Regions from separate parts of the Homo sapiens genome. Here all the other regions are linked to region 1. The links are contacts of gene promoters, found by promoter capture Hi-C in blood cells and fetal thymus (Javierre and others, 2016). All regions are on one chromosome and are shown on one strand. Each heading gives the region's core, a stretch centred on a gene start or on the middle of the fragment in contact. The rest is flanking DNA. Distances are from core to core; before and after follow the strand shown.

Region 1 (3,583 bases), core at 752-3,251:
TTTCCAATCCAATCAATAAATCTGATCTGACATTTTCAAGTTCGTTAGGTAGTTAGAGATTATGCTGGTTTCTGCATCCAGGCCTTAACACAATAAATGATATGTACATGCTTAGAGTATGTGTTTTCTTTAATATGTAATATACATTTGTTTTTTCTCTCTTCCCCCATTGTAAATCTTGTTCAGGACATGCTCTACATTTCCTCCTTTATCAGGCTGCATGTAAGAAAATACGTTGTCGTCTACTAATCTGAATTGTTGTGTCTTTGATACCTCAAAGAGGTTATTGGGAGTTCTAACTGATAATTCAAACTCATACTTCTTGGGTCAGAATACAGTTCTTGCTTTTCAATGATGTCAAGGCCCACCTCAGGCAAAGTATAGGCTTCTGAACCAATTTCTTGTCAAATTAGTAAAGAAGGGATTTTTCAAACTTCAATTTTGGAAAAGGAGATAACTTTTTCAAACTGTAATCTCTGCCAAGATGCTATGCAAAGGATTTACAAAGGAATCTATAGAACTCAATTCTGCTTCTTAAATACGCAGAGAGGAGTTAAAGATTTCAAATCTTTTAAAAACATAGTGATTCAGCCACGTTCTGTTTATCTGTAAATCTAATAGTGTATGTAGTTGAACTCTTAAAATTCTGGAATGTTTATTTTATTTTATTCATTGTCTTGAGAGGAGCAAAAGGAAGCGAGAGGGCATAGCTTTGAAGAACTGGCAATTTGGCAACTTCTCTCCCCTTGCCACCCCTCCCCCACTATCTTAGCTATTTGATCTGATTAAACAGCTTTGGAATGGTAGCCAGACTTCTGTATGCTAACGAGGCCCCTACCCTATTCGCGATTTAATGCGATTTCATCCCCCCAGAGCTTCCCGGTGCCCAGTGGAAGCCTGACTTCGCAGAAGTCTCCCAATTTTGTCAGGGGCTCGCCAGTGAAGAGTTCACACTGACTTGAAGCAGACACAGACTCATTGGACGCCTCGGGTCACATCGGATTATTCATTAGCAAATTCTTTCCACCTTCTATCTAAGTAGTGAAAGGTGACGCCAGAATCGCGTGTGCCACTCCTCTAAAGGGACCCTGATAACACCCAGTCCAGGCTCTACAACTTCTGCCTAGTCACTTGCTTCCTAGCAGTAGAAAGTTTCCAAAGGTTGCCTTAAGTCCTCCCTACCCCTAAGCCTAAAGATCAGAGCTCCAGGTCCCACCACCTAGCAGGAATCTGAGCATTTTGGAAGTTTCTGGTGTAGAGGGAAGAACCGAAGGGGTGGTAGCGGGGAACCGCGCAGAGTAACCCCCCTGCACTACGTAAGGAAAGCCCTGGCTGCAGGAGGGAGCGAGCCTGACATTGAGACGTTCCAGGGGGAGGGTGAGTTGCTGTCCTGGAGTCGCCAGGAACAGCAGCGACAGTTCCAAGAAGCGAGAGAGGAAGGTGGCCGAGATAAAGAGAACACTTCGGGAATAAGAATATTAAAAAGCGGCAGGACCCAGAGCATTAGCAAACGGCAGAGCACATGTAGTAATTTGTTAACACGAAACGGCAGCCTTCCAACTTTTGCACTGAAACACGGGGATTTACCCTTTGGGGGATTAAAAATGTTGATACGCAAAGCCAAAGGCTAATGAATAGGATTCAGTGGCTTGCTGGCAATATTTAAATATTTCTGTCCGGGAGCGCAAACTCTTCTGCAGTTATTTAGAAAAGTAGGGAGTTAAACCAAACTATAATACTCTCCCGTGCGTCTCCACTTTCCCCAGCCCGAAAAGGAGCTACCAGCGCTGTACTGCCCCTTTAAGACCTGCTGGCTCTCGGGCTCTACAAAAGGGAGTGACCTCTGGGCTTTGACAGCTCTCCTAATAACTACCACGGCGCAGGCCCCGCCCACCTAGCTACCAGCAGCGCCGATTGGCCGGCGGGCCGGTATCCCGCGCTGTGATTGGCCCGTCGCTTCCCCTGAGCGAACCTTTAGAACTCTGAGACAATATTCTGTTACATTGTAGCAAAATGGCGACTGTCATTCACAACCCCCTGAAAGCGTAAGTAAGACTAAAAAATGTACATATTCCGCGTGGTTTCAATATGAAAAAAAAGGCGCCTTCTGCGTGGCGAGCGCTGCCAGAGCATTGCGCTTGCAGGCGCCTCCAGCCGCGGCGGGGCTTCTCTCTTCTTTCAGCTCTTACTTCTTCATCTTCTTTTTTTCCCCCAACGCGCAGAAATGTCAGGAGATGCAATTAACAAGAAGAAAATTGTTACATTTGTGTTCTGCTAAATTGCAGAGAGAGCCAGATATAGGGGTTGCAGGCGGAGAAGCCCGGCGCTCGAGCGCTCTACAGCAGGAGGGTCGCGGGAGCTCGGGGACGGCGCGGTCCCCGGAGTCCCCCGCCTCGCGGGCAGGGAGCGCGGCTTCGGGGGCTGCTGGGCGGGGGGCGAGCGTCGGGCAGTGGCCGCCTCGGTGTACTTGGCCGAGCCCCGCGCCCCCGAGCCCGCGGCCCCCGCCCCGCCGCTGGGTCCGCTGGGTCCAGCGGACGGACCGCGGAGGCTCCGGAGTTTGCAGGGCGCTCTTCGCCTTCCGATCGCTCGCGGGGAGTTTGTGCAAACCTTCCGGAGTTGGAGCACCGCGGGGGAAGCAGCGGGTCCCGGGCGTGCTGGGGCCCAGGTGGTCGCCCCGGGCTTTCCCCGGCAGCCCCCGGATCTCGGAGGCGCTCCGGGCGATCGAGCGTGTGTCTGCTCGTGTATTTGCGAGCGAGCTGGCTTTAGTGGATTAACGACTCGGGTTAACTTGGGGTGGATTTGGAGGCAGGGAAGCCGCAGGTCTTATGAATGGTGTTCTCGCCACCTCTGGGTGAGGCGCTGAGGCAGGCGGAGAGGCGGTTTTGGGGCTCCTGGCCCGAGGGGGCAGCGTCTGCTCCCGGCCGGGCGAGGGGCAGGTGCCTCTGGCCGCCTCGGGGAGACTTTGAGCGCTTGCCCAGATCCTGGACAGAGTGGGGCGGGCCGGGCGAGGACTCGCGGGGGCCAGCCCCGGGTCCAACAGCCAATTTCTGCCTGCCTGCCTTCCTCCTCCTTTTCATCCTTCCTTCCTTCCTTCCTTCCTTCCTTCCTTCCTTCCTTCCTTCCTTCCTTCCTTCCTTCCTTCCTTCCTTCCTTCCTTCCAGTCAGTGGAACTGTTAAGCCGCCAAGTCCGCTCGCGATCGCGGAGCCAGGGGTGGCCTCGGAAAACTAGTGTCGCTCTGAAAGGGGTGCTATTGGGTGATGTCGGCAGAGGGTGGCTCCCTCCGTATCCGAGGTGGGCTGGGGGGTCCTCACCCCTTCGACCGGGACTTCCCCGCCCGGACGAAGCCGCAGGCGAAGTGGCAGAGGGAGGTGCAGGTCGGGTGGGGGGCGGTTCATGCCGAATTCTCCCTGGTGCGTGGCCGCTGTCGACCCTGGTTCTTTTAATTCAGCGCATTCTCGTCTTCACCCCTGGCCACTCCTGGAGTTGAAAACCAGGTTCGCTCCCGGGGACGGTAGGGGGTTCCTAACGCAAAGGAATGCACAGGGAGAATCGGACGTGTTTGCGCCAGCTCGTCGCCCATCA
Region 2 (3,583 bases), core at 589-3,088, 470 kb after region 1:
ACTTTTATTTTAGGCTCGGGGGTACATGTGCAGGTTTGTTATATGTATAAATTGCATGTCGCTGAGGTTTGATAGACAAATGATCCCGTCACTCAAGTACTGAGCAAAGGACCTGCTGGTTGTTTTTCACCCCTCGTCCCCCTCCCACCCTACCCCCTCTAGTAGTCTTCAGTGTCAGTTACTATTATCTTCGTGTCCATGAGGACCCAATGTTTAGCTCCCACTTATAAGTGAGAACACATAGTATTGAGTTTTGTGCCTCTGCTTTAATTTGCTTAGGATAATGGCCTCCAGCTCCATTCCTGTTGCTGTGAAGAATACGACTTTATCCTTTTCATGGCTGTGTAGTATTCCATGGTGTATGTGTACCACATTTTTTTTTACACAATCCATTGTTGAATGAATACATTGTTAACAATTATTTCCATCTCATCTTGTATCTTATAATTAGAGACCAGACATCAGCTTTTGAGGGGAAAAAAGCAGCCCAGGGCCATCAGCGTGAGCCTGAGGGCCAGGTAAACATGACATGGGGTGGGGGGACATATGGGTGGAAAACCACAGTCTCCATAAATGGGACAAATTTCTGTCTATTTCACGACTTTGTCTGTGGCTATGTCTGGCACCCATGTTCTCTAAAAAGATTCTTTTCCATCTCATATTCCTCACTATATTCAACACGCTGCTAGGGGATGGCCCTCTTCACAAATCCTTTTCTAAACTACCTCCCACGTGACTCAACTCTCTGACTCACCTGCCGTGTGGCCACCTGTCAGGCCCTTCTACTCTTGATAGTCTTTTTCTTCCTTTGTGGGTTAAAACAATGGAAATTTATTCTCTCCCAGTTCTGAAGGCCAGAAGTTAAAAATCAAAGTGTCGGCAGAGTTGGTTCTTTCTACAGGCTCTGCAAGCGAGTCCGCTCCATGCCCTCTCCTGGCTCTGCTGCTGAGCATCCTCGGTGCTCCTTGACTTGCAGATGGGCCCTGGATCTCCGCCTCCATCCTCACTTGGCCTTCCTCTCCCAGTTCTCTTTCTGGGCTTAATAAGCGAGTCCACTTGTGTTTGACCTCCTCTGCCCTCAGAATGGCAAATTCCCCCACATCTGTCACCACTGTGCTTGGCCCTTTGATGCTCCTCATAATGACACCCACTCTCATGGGGACACATACAAGCTGTGGGCACCCACTCCCCAATCTTGGACAAGGACGAGGGGTGAGGCTGCTCTCCTGAGTACATAGGGCTCTCCCAGTCTCTTGGGCTGGCCTGCTGAACTGGACCTGAGCTTTCCTGGAAAACAAAAAAAGCGAGACTTCTTTCTCTCGCCCACTTGACTCTGCAGCTCCAGTTTGGACTTATTTCTCTAGATTTGTTTTCCCCAAGATTGCAGATACTAACAAGAAATTACTAAGCTATCTCACTCTGTTATTATAACTTATAATAAATATACTACTTTATATTATTATATATGTTGATTGATATTATAGCATAACTCAGATGTAAAGCTCATATTGCCGTTCTAAGTATATAAGAATTTTATTTTTACATCCCATTTGTATTAGTCCATTTTCATGCTGCTGATAAAGACATACCTAAGACTGGGCAATTTACAAAAGAAAGAGGTTTAATGGACTTACAGTTCCACGTGGCTGGGGAGGCCTCACAATCATGGCAGAAGGCAAGGAGGTGCAAGTCATGTCTTACATAGATGGCAGCAGGCAAAGGGAGAGCTTGTGCAGGGGAACCTCCCCCCATTATGATACCATCATATCTCATGAGGTTTGTTCTGTATCACAAGAACAGCATGGGAAAGACCTGCCCGCATGATTCAATTACCACCCACCAGGTCCCTCCCACAACATGTGGATTTGAGTGTGAACACAGACAAGCCATATCGCCATTTAATCTGTGGAATGATTCTGTGAGGTCAGCCGGGAGCATGATTCCTGCCTTTCAGAAGAGGAAACGGGAGCCCAGTCTTTCTTGCAGCCCACAGCAAGTTACATAGCACAGTGGCCTCCAAGGGAGGAGGAATGGGGAGCTGTACACAGGGTGCAGGCGATAAGGGGTGCAACTGCCCAGGAACAATATACATATCATAAAATACCTCAGTGATGAATACTTTCTCCCCTTGGTGCTCCACTGATGCTGGGACTAGAGCCGAGCCGTGGGGTTTCTAAGCCGGTGCTGTCTCCCCTCTACCACGGCCCCTCAAGGTCAAAGCAGAGGTGATTTTAGAAGCTCCTGGAGGGGCACATCCCACATATTCAATTCACAGTCAGGAGAAACTAAATCCTCTTTTCTCAAAGGGGTGTGTTAGGTCAGCCTGGGGTGGGGAGGCAGTCCCCAAAGGCATCACGTTAGAGCTGGGAATTCTGAACTTTGGTGATACCACTTCTCTGTTCTGGGTGTAAGACATTTCAATACAGTCTTTGGCTTAGTTTAAAATGTAAATAATTACATTTCTCATAGTTTTGATGACCAGGAAGATCCTACCCCACCCTCACTCTATAATCCCTGACTCCCAGCCCGTGGCGCCACACCTCATCTCCGTATGGCTCATCACCCCATCCCGCCAGATCACTGCTCTGACTCCAGTCCCATCCCTTCCCCTCACCCCACATTTCTGGTGAAAATTATTCGAACCAATCCATGCTGCTTGCTGTCATTTTCCTGACTTCACAGGGGAAAAGAGATCCTCTCCAAGTTTTAAGACAGATTATCGGTACAAAAAAAAAAAAAATCTAGCTGCGTCCATCTTTTGGCAGAAACAGTCTGTTGGCTGAAAGCAGAAGTGATTTGGGCATGAACCGGTGTCCTTGCTCGAGGCCGGCATTCCTTTCTGCCTTATTTTCAATCACGCCTGGGGTGCAGTTCACATTATCACCACGAAGGGGCGCCGTTGCTCTGGAAAGCCACAAGGCTTCTGCAGGCAACTGCCTTCAGTTAAGAAAAACTGCCAGGTTACAGGAATGTGATATTGATTTTTGATTTCTTTTAAATTAATAATCAATGGCGTTCTGAATACTGCTTAATTTCTTATTTGTAGAGGTACAGAGCTGAAGCCTGTTAGATGTCGTTTACGGCATTTTCCAGAGGCAAATAATGAGGGCTCAGGGATACCTTGGTAGCAGCTAAATTACTAGTGAAGGTTTTTCATGAGTTTAAAAGTGTTCTTGGACCTTCAGGTAATATGAATTAAATATTAATATGTTAATTGCAAAGGTCCAAAAGATAAAAGGGAAAAAAATGAATTCACAGGAAAGAAAAGTTTTACGTTTATTAAAGGATGGGGGTGGGGGCAGGGTTAGCTGAAGGGAACAGGAATCATACTATACCAGACCTCACAAATTATGCAGCAATGATGACTGGTTATTAAAAAGTGTAATTAAGCCAGAAGTTCCAGAATTTAGGAGACTGTGGATTAGAGGCCTAGATTCCTCAAAGTATCTGCAGCAAATCCTGATTCCCAAATCTCTAGCTTCTCCCAATGTAAAGTGGGTGCTTATTCTTGCCTGCAGACAGTTAGCATCTGGCTAATATTAACTTCAAATATGTAATTTTGGAGACCCTCAAATAGAACAGG
Region 3 (3,583 bases), core at 600-3,099, 460 kb after region 1:
TATTCACACCCACTTACACACCTGCGCATGTGCATAGACACAAGACACACAACCCTCACATATGCCCGCAACTCACACTCATGCACCTAATAGCTCCTGTAATATGTTCCCACCCCCTAAAACCCTGAAAAATGACAAAAACAGCTCAGGTTAAGAACAGAGTTTTAGGAAATAACTATATGTTATCTGCTAGAAATCTAAGTAATAAGCATAGCTCACCAGGCGCGGTGGTTCACGTTTATAATCCCAGCACTTTGGGAGGCCGAGGCAGGCAGATCACCTGAGGTCAGGAGTTTGAGACCAGCCTGGCCAACATGGTGAAACCCCGTCTATACTAAAAATACAAAAATTAGCCGGGCATGGTGGCATGTACCTGTAATCCCAGCTACATGGGAGGCTGAGGCAGGAGAATCGCTTGAACCCGGGAGGCAGACTGCAGTGAGCCGAGATCATGCCACTGCACTCCAACCTGGGCAACAGAGCGAGACTCCATCTCAAAAAAAAAAAAAAAAAAGAAGTGTAGGTCAAATTTCAACATCACTCATATGCTCAGCTTCTCTAAGTCCATTTGCTAGAAATAATCTTAACTGCCTGCTTGCAGTAGTCGGACAGAAGCAAAGAGGGTCTGAGCGCAGAGCCCAGGGGAGGGAGAAATAAATCCCCTGAGCAAACTGCATTATTTTCAAGATGTCAAATACATTTTCTCTCTCAAGCTCCTAGGTGATTTTGGTCCTCTATGGTTATGGAGTGGTCTTGTAGCTGAGGGGCAGAAGGCTGGGATATCAGGTAGGATAAGAAAGGGAAGAAAGCAAAGCGCAAGTGCTGTCACCACAAATAGACACATTTGTAGAAAGCAGCATCACGTGGATGCTAACAGGGCCCCGAAATGCCACAGCTGGGGAGGGTGTAAGGAAGGTGCTTTAGACAAAGGTTTGGGTGGGTTAGGGATTGTGGAGCAGCCTGCGGCTAGAGCAACAACTAGAGGAAGTTTCCAACCTCAGGTCGAATGGGGTAGCAAGGAGGAACAGTTACAGGAACCCACAGGATGTGGTCTTTCTAGGAGAAGGTGGACAGACAGAAGCCACAGCCTTCAGCAGAACACAGCTACTCTCTGATGAAGGTCTGCCAGGGAATAAGTTACCTGGTCTCCCTCTCCTCCCCTCTGATCTCCTGTTGGTGTCACCCATCAGTTGAAGCCTTGTACCCAGAGGGCAAGGGAGCTTACTGAGGCAGCTGTAGTGACAGCCCGTGAGGCACAGAGGCAGGTAAGAAGGGTGGAGAGTGGCTCTGGAGGGACAAGTGGAGAATGTCCAGCTCAGATGTGGAGGAGAGAAAGTATTTATTGCATAGGCTTAGCGATAGCCTTGTAGAGCTAAGCTTTGTTATTTGGCACACTTTGCTTCCAAAGAGCAGGGTTTTCTTCTGATGTCCTGGTTACTGCAATCTACACTGATACTTTGCATCTACAAAGAGATCTAGAGCTCACAAAGGCCTCACACGCATCACCTCTCGTTTCACCCTTACAATACACCTGAGCCTTTGCACCCATGTGCCCATTTTATAACTGAAGAAACCGAGGTTTGGGTCACCTCATGGTTTCTTACTTTGTTTATGCATTCACTAAAGCATTTATCGAGCTCCTACTGTGCCCCATATCGTTCTCTGTGCTGAAGTGGGGAATGAGACAGAAACAGATGTGGTCCCTGACCTCTCTAAGCTTACTCTGTAATGGAGGAGTCAATGAACAAGGAAACTGCATGAAACCAAGGAAAAACAGCGCAATAATGAAGCTAGAATGGGAGTTGGGAGAGAGGATCACTGGGGACTACTGAGATTGGGGAGGGGAGTGCAATAAACTTCATTCATTGAGAATAAAGAACTCAGGAACAAGAAGGAGATGGTCGTGTGACTCTTTGGAGGAAGAGCCTCCCCATCAGAGGAACAGCCAAGGCCAGATCTCCAAGGCAGGAAGCAAGCTTGATCTGTCCAGAGGGCAAGAGGCAGGCTCGTACGCCTGGAGGTTGGCCACACAGAACACAGTGGAGAGGAGACCAGGAAGGCAGGGGCTGTGTCAGGTTTTAAAAGAAATAGAAAGTCCTGGAAGGCTTCAAGTGGTAAGGGGTCCAGTTTATGTTTTTAAAAGATGTTAGCTGCTGAGTGCAGAATGGATTGTAAAGGGAGAGGAGTAGAAGCAAGGAGACCAGTTTGGAACTGTGTCCACTGGGTTAGAGAAATGGAAGGCTGGTTGGGCACAGGTGATATGGTGAAATCAAGAGAAGCAAATGGGTTTGGAGGCAAGGCTCCTGGTCCTCTCTGATGGATGGGGCTTGCCCATGAGAAAAAGAGGAGTCTCGAGTGACTCCAGGTTTCTAGCTTAACTAGTTGGGTGCACGGTGGAGCTTACATCAACTGAGATGAGAAAACAGGATGGGGAGGACACCTGGGCTTGCGTGCTAGCCATGTTTCGCCTGAGGTCTGTAGGAGCCATCTGAGTAGGGACATGGAGTGGCTGTTGAATCTGGATTTGTGGGGAGAGAGCTGGCTGGAGATAGTATTTGAGAGTCACTGGTGTGTAGGAATGCACTTCAGGCAGCGAGGCTGGATGAGGTCACCCAAGGAGAAAATGCAGAGAGAGAAGAGGGGCTCGGAACCAAGGCCTTGGCTTGTGAGCAGGTGGCAACAGGGACCCCTGGCATGTCTGTTCTCAATTTGGAATGTCTCCTGTCACCTGAGCTTCACTCTTCTGTGACTTAACCTGTGACAATGGCAGTCCATTCCCCTCTCTCGGGAAAAAGCAAGAAAAATGAGCTCCAACAGCTGAACCCTCCACCAGGCCCTCCTGGAACCTGTCTGTTATTTCCACCCCCCTTTTTCCTGCTCCTGTCTTGATTCACAAAAAAATCTACACCGACCACCACTGATGGCATCTGATGGCTCTGCCCTATGACCAAGTCAGATAGACAGCTAAAAATGTCTGTGTTCTCTTCTGATTAATAACAAGTTTAAACTTGTTTTCTGACTTGTCTATCACTAAATCACAGCAGACTCCCTGAAGTATCTTGTGCAACTTAGGAGCAGGGGACGCTGCTTCCAAGTGGATACAGTCACACAGCCAGACAAGTGACTTCAAGCCCCAGATCCCAGTGTGCTGGAAGACTGCGGGGTGGAATGTCATCAGAGCCAGGCATCTTTCTAATGTGCCATCTTCCTCTCACATTGATCAACTTCAGACCAAGAGAAACGGTCTTCTGTTCAGAGAACACGCTAAGAATGTTCCCAAATGGGAAAACCCTGTGAATGGGAAAAGGATGGTGTAAATATAAAACTCATTGTGAATTTATTCCTTTTAGCCCTGTTTTCTCATCACTACCCCTGCCCCCAGGTGCTGGTTACTTGCAAAATGGATTAGATTTCAAGCAGCAAATAATTTTAAACATTGCTAAAACTAATAAAGGGAATACAATAGGACCCAGATAATGAATGAGGAGAGAGCTGAATGAGGAAACCCCAGCAAAGGATAGCTGCTGTAGGTGCTTACAGAATCTAGGTTGTGATTTTTTTTTTCCTTTTTTTTTTTTTTTTT
Region 4 (3,583 bases), core at 688-3,187, 440 kb after region 1:
CAGAGGCAGGCGGATTGCTTGAGCTCAGGAGTTTGAGACAAGCCTGAGCAACACAGCGAGACCCTGTCTCAATTAAAAAAAAAAAAGTTAAGAATTTAGATTTATCCTGAGCAGAGCTAAGAAAAAATAACAAACCTCAATGCTTCTACCACACACAATCTTTCACAAATCCAAAAGTACTGTTACAGGTTAAAACTAATTTTTGGACATGGAAATTGTTAATGTGCTCAGGGAGCCTCTAGCAATTATTAATTTCACGAGCTCTGACTTTTTAAAGTAGTTTGTTTTGGCTTTACTTGCAAACTTTTCAAGAAGTTGAATACAATGCAATGTTTTGCGTATCAAGAACCACCTATTCTCCTTTGAAAGAAACATACATGTAACTGGTGGAATTGGAATGAATAGAGTTTTATTTTACTTGCTTAGTGATGACCAATTTGCTATTTTTTTTTTTTTTTTTTTTTTTTTAGAGACAGGTCTGACTCTTGTCACCCAGGCTGGAGTGCAGTGGCATGATCACAGCTCATTGCAGACTTGAACTCCTGGGCTCAAGTGATACTTCTGCCCCAGCCTCCCAAGTAGCTGGAACCACAGGCACATGCCACCACGTCTGTCTAATTTTTTTTTTATTTTTTTTGGTAGAGGTAGGGTTTTGCCATCTTGCTCAGGCTGGTCTTGAACTCCTGGGCTCAAGCAGTCCTCCCAGCTGAGCCTCCCAAAGAGCTGCGATTACAGGCATGAGCTACCATGTCTGGCCGGTTTGCTTTTTAAAGTCCATATGCTTCAAGAACCATGAGTCCAGCTAGAACAGAAGTTTCATCATCAGCAGTTGCTCCTTCCCCAGAGAAGAAAGAACAAAATCCTGTAGGAAGGTGACTTTCATGCCACCAGTCTTGGAGCTAAGACTCTAACTTCATTCTCTGAGCAAAAATGTTTTTGCTTAGACGTTGGCCAATGGGGCCAGGTGCAGTGTCTCACACCTGTAATCCAAGCACTGTGGGAGGCCAAAGCAGAAGAATTGTTTGAGGTCAGGAGTTCAAGACCAGCCTGGATAACACAGTGAGATCCCCATCTCTACAAAAAATAAAACAAAAAATTAGCTGGATGTGGTGCTAGGAGCCTATAGTCCCAGCTACTCGGGAGACTGAGGTGGAAGATGGCTTGGGCCAGGGAGGTCAAGGCTGCAGTGAGCTATGCTCGTGCCACTGCACTCTAGCCTGGGTGACAGAGTGAGACCTTGCCTCAAAAACCAAAAAATAACCACAGGAAATCGACTGATGGGAAAAAGAAGGGAGAGAGGGGCAGATGCTGGATCTGACTGTTTCCCAAGGCCTCGGTTTGCCTCATCTCCCCCCTTAGACTATTCCCAGCTGACAAATGGTTCTTAGCTTCTCCTCAGCCACTTCTCAGAAGCCCAAACAGGCCCCTATACCATGATGTCTTCCCAAGGGCATCAGAGTATAACAGATTTTCATAGAAATAACTCTCATCATTCAGGACCCTTCACAGAAGCTTCTCACGCCAGGGCTGGAGGATTCCTGAAGCTCATTCTCACATACTGCTCGCCAATTTAGGGTTCTCATAATAGTAATAATAAAATATATGTCAGAAATACAACGATTATTTTAGGAGGCAAAGAAACCAGTGCTCTTGGAAGAGAAAAGGTGGCCATGAGGAAACACGTTCCTTAGTTTAGCATTATAATCACAAGAAATACTGACTTTAGATAAATGTAACTAAACAGGTAGATGCTGATTCAGTCCAGGCTTTCCAAGCGGACACTCAGAAGTACAGGCTGCATCAGGGACAACACATAGTGAGTTGCTTTGGGTTCTATCCTTTACAAAGGGTTAGCATTTATAGTTTTTTCCCTGTGAATCAAGAACTTGACTAGAATTAAGAATTTTCACTAGTTGTGAGAGTAGCCACTAATCAAGGGGGTGAAAAGACTCGGGCCACTTCTATGAATGATCTGCTTTTCTGGCACTCAGAGTTCTAACAACTGTATATAATTGAACTGCATAGAAACTGTATTGTTTTGCAGTCAACAGATTAGAAATGTTGGGTTAAAATACAGGAGTGCCAAGCTGACACACCGATTCCAGCAGGGACTCACAGCTGAAGGTCACGGATGCAGAATGGGCACTTCAAAAAAATCTTCAAAAAGCATTGTGGTTCAGGGCCATTTAATTTGGGGCAGGTAAGTCTAATCACGCCAATGTCCATTAAGAACATCAGAGTGTATTAGTGGATCTTTATAAATGTGACCTTCAGGCATCAAGAATACTCAGTTAATCAAGGCAAAGGAGTATGTAATAAATTCGGAAAAGTATTAACTGACAGCACATGGGAATAAGCTTTACTTATCTTGAATTTTTATTTTTCTGGAACACCCCCCCCATTTCCTAATTACACTGTGAAAATAAATTTTACTGCCTATTTTCTGGTGGGAGAACAGACTGGGAAATTGTTTTATTGGCCAGGGTTCTGTTGTTGTTTTCCTGGTAAGGTCTTCCTAATTGAAATGCGCAATTAAAGTTGAAAAAAAATCATTCCTTCACTTCTTGCAGAAGCAGAAAACAGAGGGAGTCTTAGCAAATAATTAAACATCTTAATTGTGGATCAGGCAATCTAATTTTAAGAGCTGGCTCTAGAAGGCTGTTCAGTGACAGTGCTACAACTTATCTTTAATTGCTGCAGCTAATGAGAATTCAACTCATTTCACACATTATTGTATTGGGCTCTTTGGCATTCTAAAAAGTTGCTCATTTCCTCAAAGCATGATTTAAATTTAAAGACAAATATTCAGTGGAGAAAATAAATTAATTTTATTTGTAAATAGAGTGATTCCACGTCTTGGAATTCACATTTACAAGACCAGTTCTCAGGAGGGCAGGGGAATCTAGTTTGGAACTTGGTTATGGGATGTTTACTGATACCAGGGGAGATAAGGGTGGGGTCAAAGGTCAAGTACCTGGGTCCTCAATGGAAAGGTTCTTCATAAGCCACTGCACAATGTCAGTACCTGCAACGATAAAGCAATTTCAGCTGAAGACCTCCTGGGTGTTTAACACTGTGGCAGAAGAAACATGTTTACCTAAGAGAATCCTAATTCCAAACAGTCCACACTGTAGAGCAGGATAATATGGGCACTTTTTTTTGTCCTAACCAACCCTTTCCATTCTTCAGTACACTTCCATAGTTACAATTCCATTCTTGTCCAAAAAACACTCACTTCTGATGATGCAGGATGAGCTTATATTCATGTTTCTAGGAAGTGTCTATAGAGGACTTCCCTGAGACGTGCTAGGTGAAGCTTTATCATGCCTGGCCCCCAGACCATTTCTTGAAGAAGGAGGCCTCATCAGCTCCCTACCATCAATTACAAGGGCTGACCAACACAGGTGACCTCATAGGTTCTTGCAAAACTCTCATCTCTTCCGGCACAGGCCTATCCTGAATGAATGTGTCCCTGCATTTGTGGCAGAAACGTCTATGTATTCACCAAGACCTCTTTCCTCTCCTCACTGTGCCATAGCTAGATTACATTTCCAGCCTCCCCTGCACTTAGATATGGACTGAG
Region 5 (3,583 bases), core at 621-3,120, 400 kb after region 1:
GTAAATGTGACTGTTTTATATCCAAATATCCAAAGCAAAACATATTGCTAGAATCTGTCTAATAAACATGTGAAAAGATTCTCAAGTATATTAACAAGGAAACAAAACAGTAAAATGAGAATTATTTTAACCTTTTGGATTTGCAAAGACAAAATGATTGATGATGCTTGGGATGGTAAGAATGTGGGGAAATGGGCACTTTTAAGCTAAGGGAATGAAAAAGATGTGTTACAGTTTTGCTCAAGAGGAATCTGGACCTACGAACTAAAATTAAAATATGCATACCATTTCTACGAATTCTACTCCTGGAAAATATATACTGATGAAATAATTGAACTTGTGTAGAAAGATGTTCCCGGAATCATTGTTTATGGTGGCAAAAAAGGAGGACATAAGCTAAATATTTATGATCCAGGTACTGGTAAAATAAATCTTACTTCACCGGTGCCAGGGGATAGTATGTAGCTATTAAAAAGAGTAAGGTGGATCTATATGTGTTTACATGGAAAGACTGCCACGACCTATTGTTAATTTAAAAATTATTGGACTATATATATATATGTACATATTTGGGTATATATATTGAACCCAATTATACAAAAGGATAGAATGTTATATGTGCATAAAAATCCAAAGTAATAGACACTAAATCAGATGTTCCCAAATTTGCTGAGCTCATGGTACCCTTAGCGTCTCAGTAAGTTTTTCACAGTGCCCCTGGGCCAAAAGAAATACTTAACAGTGTCATTTATTATGGCTAGGACCAATCAACTTAATATGTATTTGTATCCTAACAACTTAGTAGCTGTTTGAAAGACACATAAATTGAAAATTTTGTTTTCATTCTTAAATAACTACAATATGCACCTATTGGGCACTACGCATTTTCTTAAATTTTGGAATTAGGTTGGAACTTACCGTCCCTATTTCTTATTCCATGTTAATTTTTGTGCAGTTCTTGCTTTTTATCATAGTGACTGCTCCGAAAAGCCAGATTTGCAAAGATGCGTATCATCATAAGGGATGTAACGTGCTCTAATGTTGAAACTGAACCATCTTAAGCTAGTAGTTTATGCAGTATCTGCCATGTGTCAACCATCGCTGTGTTTCCATAAAAAATTTGGACTATCCAGTGGTAACTCTGTGAGTTCCCCACAGTGCTCAGGGTGCTCTGATCCACTCTGGGAACCACAGCATTAGACTATAAACAAAGGTTCTTTCTGGAAGGTGAAATCGGGTTGGAGGAAGAGAGCATTTTCTTCTTTATGCACATCTGGATAATTTGAACTTTTTAGAATGAGCATCTGCGACTTTTATTATTTTTATAAGATTTTTTCCATTTCAGGAAAAGCAGCCAGAAAAGGGGCAAAAGTGAAAGACAATGTGAGTGACAGAGACATGAAAAGGGAAATAAAAATTCATCCAGCCAAGGTGCAGGGGGTGTGAAGGCACACCACACTAGCTTTGTCTGTGTGTTTCCTTCTGTAATTCTGAAAGTGGTCCAAGTCCCTCTGGGCTTTGGTTCCTCCCCTCTTAAGTAAACACAGTGGCTTCCCTCACAGGGAAGGAGAAACTGGCTGGAATCGTTGCTGGCAGTTACTCCAGAAGAACAGAGTGATGAAATCATGGTTCTGGAGCCCTCTGCCTGAGTTCTAGTCCTAACTCTGCTGTACTAGCAGTATGACCTTGGGCAAGTTCATTAACTCCTCTGTGCCTCAGTTTCCATAACTGCTGAGTGGTGAGAATAGTAATGTTTACCTGTCGAGGGGATTCAGTGAGAGACACTTACTGCAGGATGTGGCCAATGCAGAATACGTGCCAGCTATTATCATTATTGTTGCTGTCTAACAGGAAAAAAAATTGGAACAACAGATTCTTTTCTTCCAGCAATCAGAACTAGGGAATGGTGAGGGACTGTCTCAGTTATCATGGTATCCAAAGGGTCAGAGGGGAGCCACAAAGGATCCATGCACAAATCAAAGCTATAAGGAGGTAGAAACTGTAAGTAGAACTCAGCTGGGAGGCTACTTGAGGGGTTTCTGTTCTAGCGATAAAAAATGTCAAATTAAGATAGAATATAAGGTAATCTCATGATCTCATGGATTTTTGTCTACATTCATCCCACTCCCAAACCTTAAAACATTTTTTACCTCATCTCTATGTCCCACAAAGCAACGTCATCGCTGATCCAAGGGTTGGATGGCTCAGCTGGTGTTATCAAAGGGTCATATTCCACATATTGTTCCGTGTAGGCAATTAAACTGCAGGAGGGAGGCAGAGCAAAGAATGCCACTGATTTCCTTAGAAAACCCCTTTATTCTGTTTTACACAAACATTATAGCAGTCTTCACATAATTCTAAATTAAAGGAAAAAATTTATTTCCGCTCCCACTTCTGACACATCAAACTGTTTTCATTTGTCCTTATTTCCTTCTTATAACGAACATACCATTTTTGCACTGTTGCAGCCATGATATATACATGCATTTTATATATCTTTTCCTCACTTGATTCTTTACCTGAACCTTGGTGCATCTCTCCCTGGTTATGCTAGCCTTACTGATACTAATACACTGGTCAAAACTGTTTGTGTTCCACCCTCCCACAAAGACTGATTCTCGAGGCATCTGGAACACACAAAAGACACTACAGCTCCACCAGACTGCCAGCTCAGCATTCCCAACGGAAGGACTTTCTTATGATAAAGACTTTTAAATATCAGCAGACCACAAGGAGTAAACATTTGCATTTTTTTCCAAAAAAGCAACTTTTCTAGTTATAATTATGATCTAATAGATATGTTGATCTTATAGATTGATATAATTTATTTTAGACTAATTTTTATTCTTATCAAAATGTATGTGAATAGTTAGAATAATAAAATAGTACCAAATGATTATATATACTAAAAAAGCAAAAGCAATTATTTTTTCCTCCCATCCCTTCTCAGAGAGGCATCTACTTTCCACCTTATGTTTTTTCTAAAAGCTACCTATATATTTCTAAATTATACGCTTTTATATCTATTCCTGATTTTTTTATTTTAGACAAGAATTTATCTTTCTATTCACCAGTCCTCAACTCCCTCCTTTTCTTACGTGATCCTCCAAATAGATTTGTGTTACAATTTTTGTTAAATCAATGGTCAGTGTAACATTATTAAACTAGATAAAAATTGTTTGCTGTTCAGCTAAATATCATACTACTTTTTCCAAGCAAGTGTTTTAACAAACCTGTAAAACATCTAGCAATCATTTTTTTATACCTTAAACACATCAAATAATTGAGCAGTTCTGTCCTCTTGTTTCCCAGAGATCCTCTTTCCTGAAGTCTTTAGTCTTCTTGCTCGAAACTGGATCATTTGCTCTATAGACTTGATGGAAAATGATCTTTTTGGGACTTCCTTCACTTCTGTGTTGAAAAGCCCATGTTTCCTGGATTCCATGTCTATCTCTTGCTTTTACTCCCTGATTGTGTTGAAGCACATCCTTTAGTAGTTTCGTAATAAAGGATGCATGAGAATCCTTGCAAGTCTAAAAATGCTTTTATCTCCATACTTGACTGATAGTGCTAGACATAGAAC
Region 6 (3,583 bases), core at 780-3,279, 360 kb after region 1:
CACATGCTATTGGAAAAATGGTGCTGATAGACTTGTTTGATGCAGGGTTGCCACAAACCTTCAATTTGTAAAAAACACAGAATCTATAAGGCATAATACAGGGAAGTGCAATAAAACGAGATGTGCCTGTATATGGAATCTAAGACAATCACACTCACAGAAGCAGAGAGCAGAATGGCCATTCTACCAGGGGCTGTGGGGAGTGAGAAGGACTGGGAAGACATTGGTCAAAGGACACCACATAATTAGAGAGGAAGAATAAGTTGAAGAGGTCTCTTGAACATTACGGTGACTACAGACTGCAGTTAAAAACAATATATTATATACTTGAAAATTGCTGAGAGTAGATTTTAAGTGTTCTCACTACAAACAATAAGTGTATGAGACCACGCATATGTTAAATGGCTTGATTTATCCATTCCACAATGTATACATATATCAAAATTGCATGCTATATACCATAAATACATACAACTTTTACATCTCAATTTAAAAAATAAACAAAAAGAAAGTGAAAGTAGAAAGCAGAAAATGTCTTGGTCACATGTGAGGCCCTCTTGGTTTCATCTTTGGTTGGAACCCAAAGAATCTTGTTTTGGGACTTATTCTTCCTGAGATACCCTCATATTTACAAAAGCAGGGGAGTTACCCCACTAATGGGAATAAACCCACTGGAAGGACTCAAATGAAATTAAATACTGACTTGGTTCTTTTTTTTTTTTTTTTTTTTTTGAGATAAAGTCTTGCTGTCACTCAGGCTGCAGTGCAGTGGTGTGACCTCAGTTCACTGCAACTTCTGCCTCCCGGGTTCCAAGTGATTCTCGTGCCTCAGCCTCATGAGTAGCTGGGACTACAGGCATGCACCACCACACCCAGCTGATTTTTTTATTTTTAGTGGATACGGGGTTTCCCCATGTTGGCCAGGCTGGTCTCGAACTCCTGGCCTCAAGTGATCCACCTGTTTCAGCCTCCCAAAGTGCTGGGATTACAGGCGTGAGCCACCGCGCCCAGCCTCCAATAGTGGCCTGGTTCTGAGACTACTTGGATAGTCCAGACGTATTCTGATTTAACAAACTTAGTGTGAACACACTTCACTAAGTGTTTTTCTGAAAATTTCAGACAAAAATCCAGCTCACTCTTGTTTAAGTGCCTTGAGGAACAGTATGTGTTTATTTTTACAGATGCATACTGTCTAGCACAGGCTCAGATATTAGTCGAATATACATGTTCACTGAAATGCCGGTTGGAATTTAATGTTCAGCAAGTTTACTGGCTCCATACTTGCTTGGGTTTATGACTGCATCAAGTTCCTGCTCTCTGCACAGAAGGAGAATGAGGATTACACTCAGCTCAGAGGAGCATGAAAATCTTGGCTCAGCCATCCCTAATGGTCTCAGAGCCCAGGCTGAGGGGTATCATTGGTCTTTGGTTTCATTTGTTGTCTCTTTAAATTGTTCTAACATTTTCTTTTTGAGATGGAGTCTTCGCTCTGTTGCCCAGGCTGGAGTGCAGTGGTGTGATCTTGGCTCACTGCAACCTCCACCTCACGGGTTCAAGCAATCCTCCTGCCTCAGCCTCCCAAGTAGCTGGGATTACAAGCATGCACCACCACGCCTGGCTAATTTTTATATATTTTTTAGTAGAGACGGTGTTTCACCATGTTGGCCAGGCTGGTCTCAAACCCCTGGCCTCAAGTGATTCACCCGCCTCGGCCTCCCAAAGTGCTGGGATTACAGCCATGAGCCACCACACCCAGCCAAATTATTTTAACATTTAAAGCTTAGGTACAAATGTTAGTCCACAGTAAAAATGACACACTGTCTCCTTGTGTCAGGCATCACTTCTTTCTGGCTGACAGAGCCAGGTGGCTCCTGAGTCATCTGGAAAAGCCTATCATAGTGCCTGGAACCTCTCCAGACCCTTCTCCAAAGCAACAGTTCCCTGCTTCTTGTTCTGACTTCTCAATATCTCACAATACCCCTCTGCTGCCCCATAAGAAGTGAGGAAACCTCCCCTAGACAGCTCTTCTGGCTCAGCACCAAATTCCCCTCTGATCTAGCTAATTCTTATAGACTCATTGTAGGAGGGAAAAGCCTGGTTCATGAAGAGAAAGAACTTGTCAATCAAAATAGAGCAGGATAAAGCAGATGTCTAAACACTGAATCAAAATAATATTCAGCAAATAGTTATTGAGCATTTACTAGGTGCCAGGGCACTGTGTCAGACGCTGAGATAACAGCCTGAATAAGACAAATCGGCCTCTAATGTCATAAAGCTTAGATCCAACTAGGCAAGATAGACTTTGCACAGAGACGCATTTAGCCAATTCAGCTAAGGGCTGCAGAGATGAAGTACAGGCACAGGGTATGAATGTGTATACCTGGGGATGACCTATCCTGCTACAAGTGGGGAATGGTGGTCTCTCAACCAGAAAGATCCTCATCAAAGTGGAAAGATCTGTGTAGAGAGACAGAAATATGTCTCCTAATTCTGTGGGATTGCAGGGAGGGGGGGGTCTGGTCTTGCAGCTTCACAGTCTGATCAATCAGAGGAGAAAGACAATCAAGGGGCAAGGAGGAAAGGGCAGCAGAGAGAGGTTGTCCACTCTCAGGAGGCCCATGTGGGTCAGAGGAGCAGTTTGGACACCACTCTCATCTTCTCCATGTCATATGGCCAACTCCAAAGCCAGATACCAAGGTGAGGATGGTGTGGGGAGAAAGATAAGAGAATAAGAACACAACCTACTGGAGCATGAGTCCCATGAGGTGGTCTCACCACACCAATCCCACTGCTAGCCCTTGACCACCATTATAACAGCCTGAACCACCCTTCAAGGGAACAACCGACCACAGCAGTAATAGCAGATCCAAGGTGCGGGTCTGAGAAAACCAGAATCTGAGAACCTCTGCGGATCTCTCACACCCCATGCAGACCCCATGGCTTCAGCCTCCCTCTGGCCTGGGCCTCTCTTTTCCACAGCCTAGGGATCTGTGACTCTTTCCTGCCCTGCAACTCCTCCCCCAAGCAACGAAATGCAGCCTTTGATGATCCAGTTATTGAACTGTGTTCTTTCCTCCTTGCCAGCTTTGTCTAGGAAACACAAAGACAGTAAACGGGGGTGGGTGAACAGAAAACTGAGATTTTTCTGGGAATGAGAATTAAGATTGGACTCAGGGTCTTTGGCCATTTCCCAAATGCAATGAGTTTATCACTGCCAGGGACAGCAAGTGTACAAAGCTCTTGGCAGTGACCTCTGCTGATTTATGGGGGTGCTGGTTTGTTTCCCCTATTCTGCAGACAACCAGTCTTAAGGGAAATGTATATTCAGAATCTGCAAAGTGCAAGGGAGTCACTGGCAAAACCAGCCAAGCCAAGCCCCTGCTGAGAGTAAATTCCTAAGGGGATGGAGAAAAAGCGTGCTGGCCCGCGTGCTCTCTCTCTTTCTTGCTTTGTCTTATTTTGTCTTGCCTTATCTTCTTCCCTCCTTTCCCACTTCCTTCCTCTCTCCCTCCGTCTTTCCCTTTCTTGCCCTCTCTCTCTTTCTCTTTCTACAACAGAGATGACTAAGCTGACTATGAACAAG
Region 7 (3,583 bases), core at 645-3,144, 340 kb after region 1:
ACTCCGTCTCTACTAAGAGTACAAAAATTAGTTGAGTGTGGTGGTGCAGGCCTGTAATCCCAACTACTCAGGAGGCTGAGGCAGGAGAATCGCTTAAACCTGGGAGGTGGAGGTTGCAGTGAGCTGAGATTGCGCCACTGCACTCCAGCCTAGGCAACAAAGCGAGGCTCTGTCTCAAAAAAAACACCCCCCCAAAAACCAAACCAAAACAACAACAAAAAGCAAGCAAGCAAGCTATGATTAAAGATTAGCCAAGAATGAGATGTGAAGCTGAATCACTACCAAGGAAACCTCCATCAGGTGTAAAACCTCCATCAGGTGTAAAACCACCGGATTGTGATGACTCACAAAGGCTAGTGATTGATTGACTCCTTTAATTATTTAGAATTATGGATGCCTCAGAACCTTCTAGTATTAACCAGGACAGAGCACGTATCAGAATTCCCCCACCACTTTTGCTGCAGAAGATTACAAGGTTGGGTTAAGTGTTGTCTTGGATGCTCCATCTCCATTTCCCAGTGTAATGTGCTATGATGTTAAGGCCAGGCTTTCGGTCCTTGCTTGACAGTCTGTCTTTTCCTGTTAGGCACGGGGGCTCAGATGTACTTGGTGCTTAGTGCAAACAAAAAAAGCCAGGGGCATGGTGTGGAATGGTTCTCCAGCCCTGTCACTAAGTACAGGTGCCCTCTGCCTCCCTGCCTTCCCTCTCCCCCACCTCTTATACCTAGGCACCAACTGCACCTGATAGAGTTTTAATGGAGTATCTGAGAGAACATAGTAGCAATCAACCCTGACTGGGCTTTCTTTAGCTGTAAAAAGTGTCTTATTAAAACTTTGCTGACTTTACCGGGATCGCCATGTTTAATGAGAGGCCTCAAAGAATTTGAAAGCAAAAGATGGAGAGGAAAAAAGTCACAAGCTGTAATCACCATAATTACACAATCCCACGATGAGTTGAAAGCAGCCCTGGTGAAGCCCAAGAGAGGAGGGAGTGTCATCGGCAATCGGGGTGGTTCTTAGGACAGCTGGAAAGAATGTGACATGGGAACCCTTCCCTTTCCCTGAGCTGGGCTGAGGACAAGTCCCCCTGGCAGGGCCCTAGAGGAGGGAAGCCAGGGTGGGGGCATAGTTTCTCCTCAGTCCGAGGTCTCTGGGGGGTTTTTTGTGGGATGGGGATGGAGTTTTGCTCTGTCGCCCAGGCTGGAGTGAGGTGGTGCAAGCTTGGCTCACTGCAACCTCCGCCTCCCTTGTTCTAGTGATCCTCCTGCCTCAGCCTCCCGAGTAGCTGGGATTATAGGCATGTGCCACCACACCTGGCTCATTTTTGTATTTTTAGTAGAGACGGGGTTTCACCACGTTGACCAGGCTGGTCTTGAACGCCTGACCTCAGGTGATCTGCCTGTCTCGGCCTCCCAAAGTGCTCGGATTACAGATGTGAGCCACCACGCCCAGCCGGCTGAGGTGTTTTTGATGTTAGCTCATTTACCTGGAATCTGGAACTGGCATTGGGTAAAAGGCAAATGACTTTATGATCCTTTTTGCTTTCAACAAAACACCCTTTCCGGATGGGAACTATGACAGGATGAGTTTTCTTCAACCTTGGGCCAGGACGCCCCACGCACATGGCCACCCTGGCTGTGCTGGGGCTCACTGCACGATGGTTGCCAATGCCCTGTGCCAGTGGGCGCCTGTGTCCTCCACTTGCTGACCTCCTTTCAGACATTCGGGAGAGAGAGCCCTGTTGCCCAGAGCTCAGCTGCTGCGGCAGCAAATGCCAAAAAAAAAAACAAAAAACAGAAAAGAAGGCAAGGATGACATGTGAAGGGCAGTAATTCCACTTCCTGACGGTTTCCCTTGCTTTGAGTGTGTCATCTTGTGGCTTTTTCTCCCTCAAGGCGGAGTCTAGTCCTGAGTCTTTCAGATCCCTCTCCTCCAATCTCAGCAAACTCCTTCCTTATAATTCATTCTCCTTTTCCAGGACTTATTTATAAACCACAGAATGAAATGCAGTCGGATCCATTTAACAAGTATTTGGGGCAGCATAGAATTCCAGTTGCAAAAGATCATGGGATCTGGTGTAGAAACCTACTCTGCACTATCCTTGGCCATTCAGCTTCTAAACGGCTAGACATGGAGCTCGTTGCCCTTTGAGGGGACATAGTCTATTGTTGGAATATTCTGTTATTGTTAGAATATTTTTAGTATCTACCTATCTATCTTCTAGCCATTTGTTCTAGCCTTGCTCTCTGGAGCAACCCGGAAGTGTCCACTCTTGAAGACAAATGCAAAGAGCTCACGGTGGCCATCAAGTCTGCTGGGGGGCTAGACATTTTTACTCCAGCCTCTTCCGACGTGGCTTCCAGGGTCACTTTCTCTCTCTAGCTCTTCTCTCTCAATTGTCTCTAGATGTTAAAGTTCCTGATAATGTGGGGGCTTAGAACCAAGACTTAATATTGCTTAGAGCAACAAAAAGCAATGGAACACTTTTCCTTTCCCACTTTTGTTATATAGCCTAAAGCTGCCCTTTGGAAAGCAGCTGCATTCTGCATTTGCTTACACTAAGCTTATCGTCAATTACAACCCAAGAAATTTTTTTTTTTTAAACTTGATTTTTAGGAAAGGCTACAAATGCCATCCTGTAGTTGGGAAACTGAATTTAAAACACACACACACACACACACACACGCGCGCACACACACACACACAAATATGATCTGGTAAAATGCTATCTGTTTTTGACCCATCATCCCAGCTGCGGGAAATGCTTTCCAAATATAATTCCATTATCTACCAAATGAGCCACACTTTGGAGGTCTGGATCTTTGAATGTGGTTGGAATGTTTGTCTCTTCATCCAAGTCATCAAAAAGGTTATTGGATGGGCCATGGCTGAACCCTTGTGGCCCGCTCAGAGACTGCCTTTCCAGCGGACATAGACGGATTAATACACCCTCTCCCCTGCCATGAAGACGCTGAATATACTCACTTCACCTACAAAGGGGCAAACAGGGACGTGGAGGTGAGCAGGGGGAGGGAGGCAGGAATGGGCATTGCTTTCACCCTTCTTGTGCTGCTAACAGGCCACATATGAGTATTTTCTGGAGTGGGAAATGTATTTTTTAAGGTTACCCTTCTTAACAGTAAGCCAGACCGCCACGGGGGGTGTGGAGAGAATCTGCCAAATATTACACCAATGAGGCCCATTCCCGTATGTGGCCATGGTGCTGTTGCTCATGCTCAGGCTGATACAATGTGGCCATGATTAGGGGGCATGGAAGAACCGCTGCCCTGTGGCCCTGCCACTGCTGGGGTGGCTCCATGCTTCCAACCCCGTCTCACCTTCCCACCCATTGGGAAGCCACTAAGCAAACACCCAAGGGTCTTTCTCTCATCCACCTTTGGGCAAACATGACAAAACTAAAAATCCCACTGCTCTGAGTCCCACCCCCGGCAGTGTCCCATTTAGCCACACTGCAGGAGGGCAACATCTTACAGGCTATTCCTACCTATGGACAGGTATCCTGGCCTCCTTCCAAAATGTCATGCTTTCCTAACTCAACTCAAACCAGGGACACTCATCACTA

Evidence for each region. Contacts are between HindIII fragments. The CHiCAGO score rates a contact against its expected background, and 5 or more counts as called.
Region 2: a fragment that was not itself captured here is called in contact with the fragment with the promoter of DPF3 in region 1 in 2 of 17 cell types (activated CD4 T cells and total CD4 T cells); the score reaches 7.6 in activated CD4 T cells.
Region 3: a fragment that was not itself captured here is called in contact with the fragment with the promoter of DPF3 in region 1 in 3 of 17 cell types (activated CD4 T cells, total CD8 T cells and total CD4 T cells); the score reaches 6.9 in activated CD4 T cells.
Region 4: a contact is called between a fragment that was not itself captured here and the fragment with the promoter of DPF3 in region 1, in 10 of 17 cell types (total CD4 T cells, activated CD4 T cells, naive CD4 T cells and 7 more). The highest score is 11.2, in total CD4 T cells.
Region 5: a contact is called between a fragment that was not itself captured here and the fragment with the promoter of DPF3 in region 1, in 16 of 17 cell types (activated CD4 T cells, naive CD4 T cells, naive CD8 T cells and 13 more). The highest score is 14.1, in activated CD4 T cells.
Region 6: a fragment that was not itself captured here is called in contact with the fragment with the promoter of DPF3 in region 1 in 16 of 17 cell types (total CD8 T cells, naive CD8 T cells, naive CD4 T cells and 13 more); the score reaches 37.1 in total CD8 T cells.
Region 7: a contact is called between a fragment that was not itself captured here and the fragment with the promoter of DPF3 in region 1, in 15 of 17 cell types (monocytes, naive CD4 T cells, total B cells and 12 more). The highest score is 16.3, in monocytes.

Annotation. Positions count from the first base shown.
Region 1 is chr14:72,892,519-72,896,101 of GRCh38, reverse strand. DPF3 (double PHD fingers 3) reads left to right here and starts at 2,001. Exons shown (of 11, transcript NM_001280542.3): 1 at 2,001-2,045. The coding sequence starts at 2,014. RefSeq lists an enhancer at 1,747-2,041. The HindIII fragment of the contact is 4,463 bases long and covers 1-3,583 here.
Region 2 is chr14:72,420,246-72,423,828 of GRCh38, reverse strand. All of the region lies in intron 3 of RGS6 (regulator of G protein signaling 6), which reads right to left. Among named protein-coding and RNA genes, the nearest start is that of MIR7843, 95 kb to the left of the region's middle. The HindIII fragment of the contact is 3,861 bases long and covers 1-3,583 here.
Region 3 is chr14:72,437,346-72,440,928 of GRCh38, reverse strand. All of the region lies in intron 3 of RGS6 (regulator of G protein signaling 6), which reads right to left. Among named protein-coding and RNA genes, the nearest start is that of MIR7843, 78 kb to the left of the region's middle. The HindIII fragment of the contact is 259 bases long and covers 1,720-1,978 here.
Region 4 is chr14:72,453,970-72,457,552 of GRCh38, reverse strand. RGS6 (regulator of G protein signaling 6) reads right to left here. Exons shown (of 18, transcript NM_001204424.2): 4 at 2,975-3,025. Among named protein-coding and RNA genes, the nearest start is that of MIR7843, 61 kb to the left of the region's middle. RefSeq lists a silencer at 819-1,021. The HindIII fragment of the contact is 845 bases long and covers 1,515-2,359 here.
Region 5 is chr14:72,493,830-72,497,412 of GRCh38, reverse strand. RGS6 (regulator of G protein signaling 6) reads right to left here. Exons shown (of 18, transcript NM_001204424.2): 13 at 2,151-2,261. Among named protein-coding and RNA genes, the nearest start is that of MIR7843, 21 kb to the left of the region's middle. The HindIII fragment of the contact is 5,151 bases long and covers 1-3,583 here.
Region 6 is chr14:72,528,581-72,532,163 of GRCh38, reverse strand. All of the region lies in intron 15 of RGS6 (regulator of G protein signaling 6), which reads right to left. Among named protein-coding and RNA genes, the nearest start is that of MIR7843, 14 kb to the right of the region's middle. The HindIII fragment of the contact is 496 bases long and covers 1,782-2,277 here.
Region 7 is chr14:72,547,451-72,551,033 of GRCh38, reverse strand. The region is part of intron 17 of RGS6 (regulator of G protein signaling 6); the gene reads right to left. Among named protein-coding and RNA genes, the nearest start is that of MIR7843, 32 kb to the right of the region's middle. The HindIII fragment of the contact is 1,343 bases long and covers 1,223-2,565 here.